Linked DNA regions of Homo sapiens: region 1 is linked to region 2. The links are contacts of gene promoters, found by promoter capture Hi-C in blood cells and fetal thymus (Javierre and others, 2016). All regions are on one chromosome and are shown on one strand. The core of a region is centred on a gene start or on the middle of the fragment in contact, and the rest is flanking DNA. Distances in the headings are between cores, read along the strand shown.

Region 1 (7,251 bases), core at 1,314-3,813, about 12 Mb before region 2:
AATCGTTTGAACCCGGGACGCGGTGGCTGCAGTGAGCCAAGATCCTGCCACTGCACTCTAGCCTGGGCGACAAAGCGAGACTCGGTCTCAAAAAAACAAACAAACAAACAAACAAAAAGAATGGCTCTTTTCGGTGGGCAATTGTAAAGAGACTCCTTCCTCCAAGCTGAAGCCCTCATTCTGGGAAGTGGATATGTTTCTTTTCAGTTTGCTGATATTTATATTCAGACGGATTTTTTTTTTTTTTTTTTTTTTTTAGATGTGGTCTCCCTCTGTCTCCCAGGCTGGCGTGCTGTGGGATGATCTTGGCTTACTGCAACCACTGCCTCCTGGGCTCCAAAAATCCTCTCGCCTTAGCCTCCCGAGTAGCTGGGACTACAAGCGCTCGCCACCACATCCGGCTAATTTTTTGTATTTTTGGTAGAGACGGGGTTCACGCCATGTTGGCCAGGCTGGTCTCAAACTCTTGGCCTCAAGTGATCCGCCGACCTCTACCTCTCAAAGTGCTGGGATTACAGGCATGAGCCATGGCGCACGGCCATAATAGTTCTTTTGGGAGGAAAAAATGTCTTCCAGCTGATATGCAAACCTCAAAGTCACTGAAGGTTGGTATGGTTTTAAAGGATGAGAAATCAGAGGTTTCTGGGTGAAGGTACAATCAAGCCAATGCCCTTATTTGTTGGAAAGAAACTCGATTTTCCTTCTCTTCTCTTCTGTCTGTGAAGAGGAACATTTAAGAATGGGTCAGTTTACATTTGTTCCTTGGTTCTGGTATCCGCTAGAATTTTAGTTGCAAGGTTATGAAGAGCTAACCTACTTGGGAAACATAAAACAATTTTTTGTTGTTGTGGTGGTTTTGCTAAACTCTAACACTCACTTAAACACACAAAAGTTTAATTTAGAAAATATCCTTGGCTGGGCGCAGTGGCTCACGCCTGTAATCCCAGCACTTTGGGAGGCCAAGGGGTGCAGATCACCTGAGGTCAGGAGTTCGAGACCAGCCTGGCCAACATGCTGAACCCCCCCCCATCTCTACTAAAAATACAGAAATTAGCAGGCGTGGTGGTGCACGCCTGTAGTCCCAGCTACTCGGGAGGCTGAGGCAGGAGAATCGCTTGAACCCAGGAGGCGGAGGTTGCAGTGAGCCCAGATCATGCCACTGCACTCCAGCCTGGGCGACAGAGCAAAACTCTGTCTCAAAACAAACCAACCAACCAAAAACTAAAAGCCTCTCGCACTCCCGTGTGTATTGCAGCTTTATTCATAAGTGCCTAGATGTGTCCGTCAACAGATACATGGATAGAGAAAATGTGTACATACGCAATAGAATACTATTCGACCTTAAAAAAATACAAAACAAAATGAAATCCTGTCATTTTTCCTCTACGAAACAAAAATAAAAACATGGCTAAGTTTGGGCGACATTACATAAAGTGAAATAAACCGGGCACAGAAAGATAAATACTGCATGATCTCACTCACGTGCGGAAGCTGAAATAGTTGGTCTCACAGAGAGAATAGTGGTTACTGCAGGTAGTGAAGGTGGGGGGAGGTGGGATAGCCAAAGGGGGGTTACTGGATACAAAAGTACAGCTGAATAGGAGGAATAAGTTCCAGTGTCCCTATAGAGTGAATACAACAACTTATTGTACGTTTTCAAATAGCTGGAAGCGTGGATTTTTAATGTCTCCCAGCACAGAGAAATGATACATGTTTGAAGGGATGGATGTGGTCATTGCCCTGATTTGAACATTACAAATTGTGTACATAGATCACAACATCACACCACACCTCATAAATGTGCACAATTGTTATGCGTCCAAACAATAATAAAAACCAAAAATAAAAATGAAACACGTGGAAACAGGAAAAACGCCTTTAAGAATAGAGTATAGCAAGGACTTCCAAAAGCAAGTACAGGAAAGGGAGGGGGATGTAGCTCAGTGGTAGAGCGCATGCTTTGCATGTATGAGGCCCCGGGTTCGATCCCCGGCATCTCCATTGTAGTTTTGTTGCTTTCTGTATTCGTTTTGGTCCGTGGTTCTTTATCATTAAAGTGCCATGGATGTGATTATCATAAGCATTGTGATTCCAGGCACTACTTGGAGCTCAGATTCTCACACCAGGTGTGATCTTCCCATTCTGAAATCTCTAATGTTTCAAATGCACATGAGTTAGAAGAGGCTGATGGGAGTAATCAGCAGAAAAGTGTTAAGGCAAAACCTGACTTGATGACTGAAACCACAGCAAAAGTGAGCAGGATGATCATTTGGGGAGTGTACACCACATCTCGTGCCACCATGATTGTACTGCACTGGCCTCGAGGGCTGTTGACGCATTCTTGGCCATCAGAGGGCAAGTGTGTAAGTTGCTGGAAGGTCTGGGCCCCCCTGTTTGCCATCTCACTCCTCCTCTGCACTGCCACGAACCACCTCATTTGCATGGGAGGAACCCAGAAGCAAACTCACATCCCAGCGGGGCTTTGCTCTCTGCTTCCTCAGCAACACGTCTCCACGGCTGTAATGCAAGTGCAATTTACATTTATATTCATACACTGTGTTCCGGGGTGAGCAGGCCTATGCAAACCTACCCCAAAGGCCAAGGGAGCTGAGAGGCCAAAGAAAGGGGTTGACAAACCCAGTTTCTCAGGAAAAAACATTTATTAGGGACTTACCAACAGAAGCCATAGTCTCAGGGTGGTCATCAGAGGATATAAGGTTTGCTGCGCCATAACCCCCGGCCCAGGGCTTCCATACCATAGGGAAGGAATATATGTAGGACAATTGAAGTTGACCCCTCAAGCAAGGCAAGAATGTTATGTGAATCCGCATAAGGGAAGGATTTATGATCTAGGTTGTTCTGATCTAAGGGCAGAATTTATGGTAACAGTAAAGTAGAAATCTTAGAGACCTTCCTGGAAGAGGCATTAATCGGAAGTTATCTTGGTGGATTAGCAACCAAGATGGAGTTGCTTTCACCTCCACTGTGTTTCTGTGTTTTATCACTGAAAGCAAAAGATGGTGGCTCAGGCCTGTAATCCCAGCACTTTGGGAGGCATGAGGCAGGAGAATTGCTTGAGGCCAGGAGTTTGAAAGCAGCCTGGGCAACAAAGGGAGACCTTGGCTCGGAAAGGAAAGGAAAGGAAAGGAAGGGGAAGGGGAGGGAAAGGGGAAGGGGAGGGGAGGGGAGATTGATTTACTTGCATGAATGATCTTTAGGCAAAAATAAATACATAAAAATAAATTATATTTTTTAAAGTTTAACCAGTTCCCAGCTCTCTAAATAATAATAAGAATGAAAGAAGGGATTCGGCTGCATTCTGTGGTACAGTTCTTTGCAATTATAATGAATTCCTCACCTGTCAGCCCCTTTCTTTCATTTGACTTGACTTCATGTTTTAAATGGTAAAAGCGTCTAATCCTAGATCTAGAGCTTTCATTTTTGAGATGAAGAAAATGAAACTTGCGAACTGACTCACCAGTTAGGTGGTGACGCATTGGTGACAGCTTGTTTCTAATGAGCTTCAGGAAAGGTTATTTCTCCCTAAATGTCAACAAGGTTTTAGGGGAAAATCATTGAAGATAATTTCTGAAGTCATCAGGCCTAACACAAAACTTACATGCTTCTGTAACTGCCCAACAGTTTCTCCTTGCCCGCTGCCTAGACAGAGCCCATTTATTAGGACAGGGAAACTGTGATCCGCCCACCTCAGCCTCCCGAAGTGCTGGGATTACAGGCGCAAGCCACCTCGCCCTGCCATAATAGAGAACGTTTAATTCACACACAGCTGGCAGTGTGGGAGACGGGAGTTTTACTATTACTCAAATCAGTCTCCCTGAAAACTCAGGGATTGGAGTTTTGAAGGATAATTTGGTGTGTAGGGAGGTCGGGAAATCGGGAGTACTGATTGGTTGGGTCGGAGATGAAATCACAGGGAGTCGAAGCTGTCCCTTTGCCCTGAGTCAGTTCCTAGGTGGGGGCCACAAGACCAGATGAGCCAGTTTATCAATCTGGGTGGTGTCAGTCGGCCCACTGAGTGCAGAGTATGCAAAATATCTCAAGCACTGGTCTTAGGTTTTACAATAGTGATGTTATCCTCAGGAGCAATTTCAGCATGGACAGAATCTTGCAGTCTCCAGCTGCGTGACTCCTAAACCATAATTTGTAATCTTGTGGCCAATTTGTTAGTCCTGCAAAGCAGTCTAGTGCGCAGGCAGGAAGGGGGCTTGTTTTAGGAAAAGGCTATCACCTTTGTTTCAGAATTAAACTATAAACTAAGCTCCTCCAAAGTCAGTTCAGCCTACACCTAGGAATGAACAAAGACAGTTTGGAGGTTAGACGCGAGATGGAGTCAGTGAGGTCAGATCTCTTTCACTGTAATAATTTTCTGTTATGACTTTTGCAAAGGCAGTTTCACTTCTGTTTTACTTTGTTTCTTCTTTTGTTTATTTATTTATTTATTTTGCTTGAGACAGGGTCTGTTTCTGTTGCCCAGGCTGGAGTGCTGTGGTGCAATCACAGCTCACTGCAGCCTCAAACTCCTGGGCTCAAGTGATCCTCCCACCTCATCCTCCTGAGCAGCTGGAACTACAGGCATGCACCACCGCCTGGCTAATTTTTGTTTGTTTGTTTTGGTAGAGACAGGGTTTCACCATGTAGCTCAGCTGGTGTTTAACTCCTGGGCTGAAGTGACCCTCTCACGTTGGCCTCCCAAAAATGCTGGGATTACACGTGTAGGCCACCATGCCTGGCTATTTTTTTCAATATTTTTTATTTTTATTTTTTATTTCTTACTATGACCCCACACTTATATGACATTACTTTGTACCTTATAATTAAATATTTCAGCCAGGCACATTAGCTCATGTCTGTATTCCCAGCCCTGTGGGAGGCCAGGGCAGAAGGATCACTTGAGCCCAGGAGTTCAAGACCAGCCTGGGCAACATGGTGAAACCCCCATCTCTTATTTTATTTTTTGGAGACAGAGTCTCACTGTCACCCAGGCTGGAGTGCAGTGGCACGATCTCGACTCACTGCAACCTCTGACTTCAGGGCTCAAGTGATTCTCCTGCCTCAGCCTCTGGAGTAGCTGGGATTACAGGCGTGAGCTACCACACCTGATAATTTTTGTATTTTTAGTAGAGATGGAGTTTCAGCATGTTGGACAGGTTGGTCTCGAACACCTGACCTCAGGTGATCCACCGGCCTCAGCCTCCCAAAGTGCGAAACCCTCCTCTCTACAAAAAATGCAAAAATTAGGTGTGGTGGCGCATACCTGTAGTCCTACCTACACAGAAGGCTGAGGTGGGAGGATCACCTGATCCGGAACATCCAGGCTGCAGAGTGAGCCGTGATCATACCACTGCATGACAGAGCGAGATACTGTTTCAAAAAACAAAGAAACAAAGCCAAATATTTCTACTAGTGCATGACAAGGAAAAAAAATACCGCAGGGAGTTGTTATTGTTAAAGGTTGGTGTCAGGAATTGGAGCTTCCTAGAAATACTCTTTGAAAAAAGTGCTTTTTCAACTATTAAATTTTATTTTACCCTTAAACAAAGCTTATTATATGAGGTCACATGAGTTGTCAAATTCATAGAGACAGAAAGTAGAATGGTGGATGCCAGGGGCTGGTGGGAGGGAGAAATGGGGAATCAGTTTTTCATGGGGACAGAGTTTGTTTTGCAAGACGAAAAGAGCTCCAGAAATGGCTTGGTGGTGATGGCTGATGCACAATACTGAATGTACTTCATGCTACAGAAATGTACACTTAAGAATGGTAAATTTTATGTGTATTTTACCACAATTTTAAGACAAAACCAAACGACGACACAAACAAAGCCCAAATAGGTTAAATAACTTCCTAATGTTCCTAAAGTAGGCAAATTTGGAGACTAGCTAAGTCCGGTTTTGACCGCTGAGATGAATGGGTTATTTTTAAGCTGGAGCGGTTTGTGTTCCACCACACAGTTATACAGCACAAGCAGAAACAGGAAGAAGAACACATTCCCCAGGTTTTTTTTTTTTACTTCCTGTTTGCCAGGCCTCTAACCTGCAGGCGTCCTTGACAACCTTTTATGGTTATATAAGCGATGACAAAGCAAGGCAAACCCTTCCCACCACCTCTCTGATTCCACCCTTTTTCTTGGGGGAAGCAAGTTTGTTGACCCTCACTCATGCTCTCAGACAGTTTCATGGGGCTGGATTAAGTCACATACAAGGTGGTGAATTTCAGAAGGGGGAACTGAATCCTTAGGGGGAGGGGAAAAACGAAGGCGGAGGAGCAGGCGCTGATCCAACCCCGCCCTCCCCAGCTGCAGCCCAGCACCCCGGCCCTTTGTGAGCTCAGCTCATCACACGCTCCCTTCCGCCTGCCAATCCCGCCCTGTTGCTGGGCCTCTGTCCCTTCTCCATTGGTGCCAGCTCTGAAGCAATCTTTTCTGGGGCGCCTGCAAAGGACGGATCTGTGGGTGGAACGAACTGAAAACGGATCCAGTGACTCATCCCGATTCTTGCACATTCTAGCACATCGCATTCTAGGTCAGCAGGGTTTAGGTTTTAAGAGCGTGACTTGATACCTGACTCCTGAGTCCAAGTGGGACATTTAGACTTTGGGAACCCTTTCGGAAAACAGAAAAGCAGTTGTTGCAACAACAAAAATCCTTTGTAGGACAGGGTTTCTTAATTTCAGCACTATTAATATGTTGGGTCTGATAATTCTTTGTTGTGGGGGACTGTCCCTCATAGAATGTTCAGTGGCATCCCTGGTGTCTACCAACAGTGCTAGTATTAGTAGTAGCATCCCCTAACCTCCCCTGAGTTGTGACAACCAAGAATATCTCCAGATATTGCCAAATGTCCCCTGAAAGAGCAAATCACTCCTTGTTGAGAACCATTGTTGTAGAGAAACATCAGACACCTGCGTTTTGGGAGGCCATTTTCTTCCCTGTCACCTCAGTGACTTTGGAGAAAGGTTTATTTCTGTTTGCTTCAATAACCATTTAAGTCAGGGAATGCTGGGATGTTTTCAATAATTTTTTTCTGCTAGAGACAACATTGGTTTCTCTTTGCAGCTAACCTTTGGCCCATTACCCACCCTACCCTCATCCCCTCTTCTTCCTTTTTCCTCCTCCTGTCCTCCTCTCCCGCCCCTGCCTCTGCAGTTAGGGCTGTTTTTTCTCTGTACCTTTTGGACTCTGAAAAAAGCTATGTCACAAAGCTGGTGACTCAGCCTTTAAACAACATGAATCA
Region 2 (6,582 bases), core at 704-3,203:
CAGACCTTTGAACTTGCAAACAGCAGCAGGTTCCTTCCTCAAGCTGTGGGCTCTGGGCTCAACCCACTTTGCCTCCCAACTGACCTAGTCAATGGCAGCTGAGCAACTGACTTCTTCCTCGAATCATTGGAACAACTCCAAGCAAATCCTTGTGCATCCACAGGGAACAGTACAACGTTTTGAAACAAGGCAGCGAAAGTAAACATCATTCTACTTGCTGCTAAGCCCGTAGCTCTCTGCCCAGCACACTTCCTGTGAGTTTTTTTTTCTTAAGTTTCCTCCAGATCTGGGGATTTATTTTGCTTTTAAATCTCAGCAGTGGAAAGGCAGAAGAGGAAATCCCAGATGAGACACTACTATTTGGCAGTCTTAAGAATTATGGTTGTATTGTCGTTTTGGTTTAACTTTTTACCACAGATATTTTCAAACATTCTCAAAAGTGCAGAGAATATATACGTGAACTTCCTTGTATCCATTACTCAGCTTTGACAATTATCTCCCATGTTTACTTTGAAGGCAGGAGAATTTATTAACTCACAGAGAAGAGGTTTCTTAATGTTACCATTATCATAATGGCTAGTGGTTTCTATGTTTTAACTCACGGCTGTCCAACCTTTTGGCTTCCCTGGGCCACGCTGGAAGAACTATCTTGGGCCACACATAAAATACACTACCATTAATGATGAGCTAAAAAAAAAGAGGCAGGGGGGTTGTTCATGCATAATTTTCATGATATCTGCCACCATAGATTAAAGTCCTCGCATTCAAATGCTTCAACACGGTTGTTTAACTGTTTAATATATGACTGCTTGCCTGCCTGTACTGCCTTTGCCCACTGGCTTTCAACTGGGGTGATTTTTGCCCCCATGGGGACATCGGCAATGTCTGGAGACATCTTGACTGTCACAACTTGGGAGTGGGGGGATTGCTGGTGGGTGGAGTCCAGGTATGCCACTGAACTTGCTTCAATGCACAGGTGAGACCTCCCGAAACAGAATTATGTGGCTCAAAATGTCAACTGAGCTGCTGTTGAAAAATCCTATCTTAGCTAATATCCCCACTTTAGGAATGAGGAAATTGAAGCTTGGAGTGGTTAACTTGCCTTTTATAAGTTTCAACCCAGGCAGTCTGAATCAGGGACCCTGCCTGCTTAACCATTACCCTATATACACCTACGACTAGAACCAGTCCCCTGATTTGAATTCAAACACGTCATTTTTCCAGACAGACAAAAATGAGGCCCAGAGAGGGGAAGAGACTTGCCCAAGGTCACACAGTGGAGGAGTAGGGCTAGAACCCGGGACTCCTGCGTCCTGGTCCAGTGTTCCCTCCGCGGGCTTTGCTTCTGCCTCTACAGAGGACCCAACTGGCCAGCGCTGGGGAAAGGGCCTAGGGGAAGAGGTTCAGCTACCATCCCGCTGTCCGCTGGGGCAGCCTGACCCAGGCACAAGACTCCTGTGGGGTCACCTAAGGGCGCCAGGGAGAAGAGCGAGGGAGGGAGGAAGAAGGAGGCAGGACAGCTGGCTCCAGCTCCACGTGCTCCCAGCCCCTGGCTGGGAGCCCACGTGAGGGTCGCCCTAAGAAGTCGGGGGCGAGGAGAGAGGGTGCAAAGCCCCGGCCCGGGCTGGACGGAGAGAAGCGCGGTGGAGACTTCCCTGCGCCCCCTCTGGGCCCGTACGGCCCACCTCCCACACCAGAGTGCTGCGCCGCAACCCCTTACTCCGCGTCCTCTGACCCCTGATCCCTGCCCTCTCCCTCGGGCCAAGCCGTCGCATCCCTCGGATTCTTACACGCGCCGCCCCAGCAACCCGGACCGCGCGCCGGGGTCCGCACCGCGCAGCCTAGCCCGCCGGCGCCGCCGCCAAAACCCCGAGCCCGAAGCTGTTGCAGCCGCCGCAGCCGCCGAAGCCGCCGCCACTTCAGCCACTGCCACCAGGGCAGCTGCGCCAGCTCTCCTATCCACCGCCTACCGTCCTCTCAACCCCGCTGGCCCCGCCCCATTTCCCCTTCACAGCGTCCTACTGGCTAACTGGGCTACCGTGATGAACTCTGATTGGCCAACTATCACGTCCTTCCGCAGGTCTCGCCCGCCGCCGATGCGGTACTCCCTGCCCGCCTCCTTAAGAAGGGGCGGGACGAAGAATCCACGCCCCTTACTCCTCCCTTGTTCCCCGCCTTACTCGTTGAGTCCAACCCAGAGGGAGTCCCAAGTCTTTCCATTGGTGAAAGGTCAAAATGGCGGTGCTTCTGATTGGTCAGACTTCAGGAGGTGGGGACAACTGAGCGGAACAATAAATTGAATGGTGAAAAGAAAGGTCAGTCAGACACCGAGTCTCGCCTTCTGAGATTGGCGGGTAACCTAGCAACGCAGGGACCGCGGCGGTAACTGTGGCTAGGGAAACCTGGAGCGGTCAGAGCAGGTGAGTAGCCAGTTGGGAAAGGGTCGCGGATCGGGGGAGATGTGGAATAGGGTTCAGCCCTCTGTCCTTTGGCTCCCTGAGGAATTAGAAGCCCCCGCTGCGATCTCGTCTCAGCTTCAGGACCCTGTCCCTCAGCTCCTGCCTTAGTCTGGACCTTTCGCTCCACAACCTGCAGGGAGCCGGCCTCCATTCTGCCCTTCTACCTGCCCACTTCATGGCTCCACTCCCTCATCCCTAAAACGAGGAGGACAACAGTCAAGCAGAGTCATATCGTAGTTAACTTATTTCAAGTCAAACATGGGAGCTGTGGGTGGGAGGGGAGTTTATAAGTCCCCTCCCATTTCACCCAACGGCCATACGTTCCTCGGTGAGCAGGCAATCTCACTTCAGTGTTTAAATTAGGTAGTTTTGTTTGTTTGTTTTGTTGTTGTTGTTGTTGTTTTTGCCGAGCATGGTGGCTCACGCCTGTAATCCCAGCACTTTGGGAGGCCGAGGCGGGCAGATCACTTGAGGTCAGGAGTTCTAGGCCAGCCTAGCCAGTATGGTGAAACCCCATCTCTACTGAAAATACAAAAATTAGCTGAGCATGGAGGCGCACCTGTAATCCCAACTACTCGGGAGGCTAAGGCACGAGAATCACTTGAACCCGGGAGACTTAGGTTGCAGTAAGCCAAGATAGCGCCATTGCACTCCAGCCCGGGCAACAGAGCAAGACTCTGTCTCAAATAAATAAATAAATTAGGTAATTTTTATTACACCACTTTTGCCTTTATCCTAACTTTGGAATTTAACTCCCATCTCCATCCTTAAGATGTGATCTCATTGTACCTACTGAAGACAGAGAGTTTCTTGTGATGATTAAATGAGGCTAAGGGCCGGGCGCGGTGGCTCAGCCTGTAATCCCAGCACTTTGGGAGGCCGAGGCCAGCAGATCACCTGGGCCAGCAGATCACCTGAGGCCAGGAGTTTGCGACTAGCCTGGCCAACATGGTGAAACCCTGTCTCTACTAAAAATACAAAAATTAGCCGGGCCTGGTGGCGTGTGCCTGTGATCCCAGCTACTCAGGAGGCTGAGCGGGAGAATTTCTTGAACCCGGGTGGTGGAGGTTGCAGCGAGCCGAGATCGTGCCACTGCACTCCAGTCTGGGTGATAGAGCGAGACTCCAGCTCAAAAAATAAATAAATAAATAAATAAATAAATAAGGCTGAGGTGGGAGAATTGCTTGATCGCAAGAGGCGGAGGTTGCGGTGAGCCATGATTGCACTACTGCACTCCAGCCTGGGCGACAGAGCGAAAAACCCTGTCTCAAAAAAATATATAAAAAAAAAACTTTGAGGTTCAAAAGATATTTTCATAAGAAAATGAAAAGATCAGCCACAGACACAGACATGGAGGAAATATTTGCAAATCATGTGTCATAAAAGAGTTGTATATAGAATATAAAAATAACTCTTATAACTCAATAAGAGGACAACTCAATTTTTTTAATGGGCAAAAGAGTTGAGTAGACATTTAAAAATCAAAAAGACAATACCAAGTATCATCATGTAGATAAATAAACAAACTGTAGCTTTCATATGTTGCCGGTAGGTACAGCAGAATACCAATTGGTACCACCAATCTGAAATATAGTTGGCAGTTTCTTAAAAAGTTAAACATAGGCCAGGCACAGTGGCTCGTGCCTGTAATCCCAGCACTGTAGGAGGCACAGGCAGGTGGATCACCTGAGGTCAGGAGTTCGAGACCAGCCTGGCCAACATAGCAAAACCCCGTCTCTACTAAAAATACAAAAATTAGCAGGGCATGCTGGCGGGTCCCTGTAATCCCAGCCATTTGGGAGGCTGAGGCAGGAGAATCACCTGAACCCAGGAGGCGGAGGTTGCAGTGAGCCGAGATCGTGCCACTGCACTCCAGTCTATGTGACAGAGTGAGACCCTGTCTCAAAAATAAATAAATAAAACAAAAAATAAACTTACACATAACCTAGCAATTCCACTCTTAGGAAGTTACCCCTCCCAAGTGAAAACATAAGTCCACACAAAGACTTAAATATAAATGTTCTTAGCAACATCACCCTTAACAGCCCAAAACTGGAAACAACCCAAATGTCATCAACAGGTGAATAAATAAATAACTCATGATATTTCCTTAGAATGGAATACTATTCAGCAATAAAATACTATTCAGGAATGAAATACTAATAATTGCTACAACCTGGATGAACCTCAAAAACATGTTAAGTTGAGGGTTTTTGGCCCAGTGGCTCACGCCTGTAATCCCAGCAATTTGGGAGGCCAAGGCAGGAGGATCCTAGTTTGAGCCTAGGAGTTTGAGCCTAGGAGCCTGGTAACAAAGTGAGACCCTATCTCTACAAAAAATACAAAAATTAGCCAGGCATGGTGGTATGCACCTGTAGTCCCAACTATTCAGAAGGCTGAGGTGGGAGGATCACCTGAGCCTGGGGAGGTCAAGGCTACAGTAATCCATGGTTGCACTGCTGCACTCTAGCCTGCGTGACAGAGTAAGACCCTGTCTATTAAAAAAAAAAGGCAGCCGGGCACGGTGGCTCACGCCTGTAAATCCCAGCACTTTGGGAGGCCAAGGCAGGCAGATCACCTGAGGTAGGGAATTTGAGACCAGCCTGACCAACATGGAGAAACCCCGTCTCTACTAAAAATACAAAAAAAAAAAATTAGCTGCGCGTGGTGGCGCATGCCTGTAATCCCAGCTACTTGGGAGGCTGAGGCAGGAGAATCGCTTGAACCCAGGAGGCAGAGGTTGCAGTGAGCCGAGATCACGCCATGGCACTCCAGCCTGGGAAACGAGAGCAAAACTCCATCTCAAAAAAAAAAAAAAAAGGTCAGGGTTTTTCAACCTCAGCTCTATTGATGTTTTGGGTGAGAAAATTCTTTGTTGTGGGGAACTATCCTGCCAATTGTAGGATATTTAGCAATATTACGAGCCTCTACCTACAAGATGCCAGTAGTAGCCTCTCTCAGTTGTGACAAGCAAATGCATCTCCCGATTATTGCCAAATGTCTTCTGGAGGGCAAAGTTGCCCCAGGTTGAAAACCACTGTGCTAAGCAAAAAGTCAGATGCAAACAATTACATACTGCATGATCCCATTTATATGAACTATCCAGGAAAGTTACATATGAGTGGAGGCCAGGGGCAGTGGCTCACGCTTGCAATTCCAGCACTTTGGGAGGCCAAGGAAGGTGGATTACTTGAGCCCGGGAGTTCAAGACCAGCCTGGGCAACATGCTGAAACCCTGTCTCTCCTAAAAACGTAAAAATTAGCCAAGCGTGGTAACACGCACCTGTAATCCCAGCTACTTGGGAGGCTGAGGCACGAGAATTGCTTGAACCAGGGGGGTGGAGGTTGCAGTGAGCCGAGATTACGCCACTGCACTCCAGCCTGGGCGACAGAGCGAGACTCAGTTTCAAAAACAAAACAACCACAACAAAAAATGTGAGTGGAAGCAGAGATTGTTTGCAGATTAGCTCATGGGAATTTGGGGGGAGTGATAGAAATGTTCTAAAACTGGATTGTAGTGATGTGGCAACTTCAGATACATTTACAAAAATAGTCACTGAGTTTTACACTTACAATGGGTGAATTTTATGGTAATGTAAATTATACCTCAATAGAGCTGTAAAAAAAAAAAAATTACACGTGTGATTAGTACTATGCAGGAAAGGTGAGAGAGTTTCCACAGGTTGTAAAGTGCTGTCTGTTCCAGTCTGAGGAGGGGTAGCCATTGAGCTAAGACCTAAAGAATGAGAAATTGTTAATCTAGGGAGAAATTATTCCTGGGGGGTTGGTTTCTGACAAAAGGAACATTATACATTAGTGCCTGAGAGCAGGACGGGTTTGAGATAGGCTGTTTTTTGTTTTGTTTTTTTGAGACAGAGCCTTTCTCTGTTGCCCAGGCTGGAGTGCAGTGGTGCAATCTCAGCTCACTGCAACCTACGCCTCTTGGGTTCAAGCGATTCTCCTGCCTCAGCCTACCAGGTAGCTGGAATTACAGGTGCCCAACACCATGCGCTGCTAATTTCTGTATTTTTAGTAGAGACTGGGTTTCACCATGATAGCCAGGCTTGGTCTCGAACTCTTGACCTCAGGTGATCCACCCACCTCGGCCTCCCAAAGTGCTCCC

What was found. Contacts are between HindIII fragments. The CHiCAGO score rates a contact against its expected background, and 5 or more counts as called.
Region 1: a fragment that was not itself captured here is called in contact with the fragment with the promoter of TPCN1 in region 2 in 1 of 17 cell types (neutrophils); the score reaches 6.4 in neutrophils.

What each region holds. Positions count from the first base shown.
Region 1 is chr12:124,916,505-124,923,755 of GRCh38, reverse strand. TRA-TGC3-2 (tRNA-Ala (anticodon TGC) 3-2) reads left to right here and starts at 1,930; the gene lies at 1,930-2,001. RefSeq lists enhancers at 2,135-2,454, 2,021-2,699, 2,535-2,724, 5,930-6,139, 6,350-6,619 and 3 more, a cis regulatory region at 2,309-2,479 and silencers at 4,553-4,702, 7,110-7,169. The HindIII fragment of the contact is 6,001 bases long and covers 1-5,563 here.
Region 2 is chr12:113,216,835-113,223,416 of GRCh38, reverse strand. TPCN1 (two pore segment channel 1) reads right to left here and starts at 1,953. Exons shown (of 28, transcript NM_017901.6): 1 at 1,791-1,953. It overlaps DRC10 (dynein regulatory complex subunit 10), which reads left to right and starts at 2,323. Exons shown (of 5, transcript NM_001330452.2): 1 at 2,323-2,420. RefSeq lists a silencer at 1-253 and an enhancer at 2,575-2,724. The HindIII fragment of the contact is 6,265 bases long and covers 1,086-6,582 here.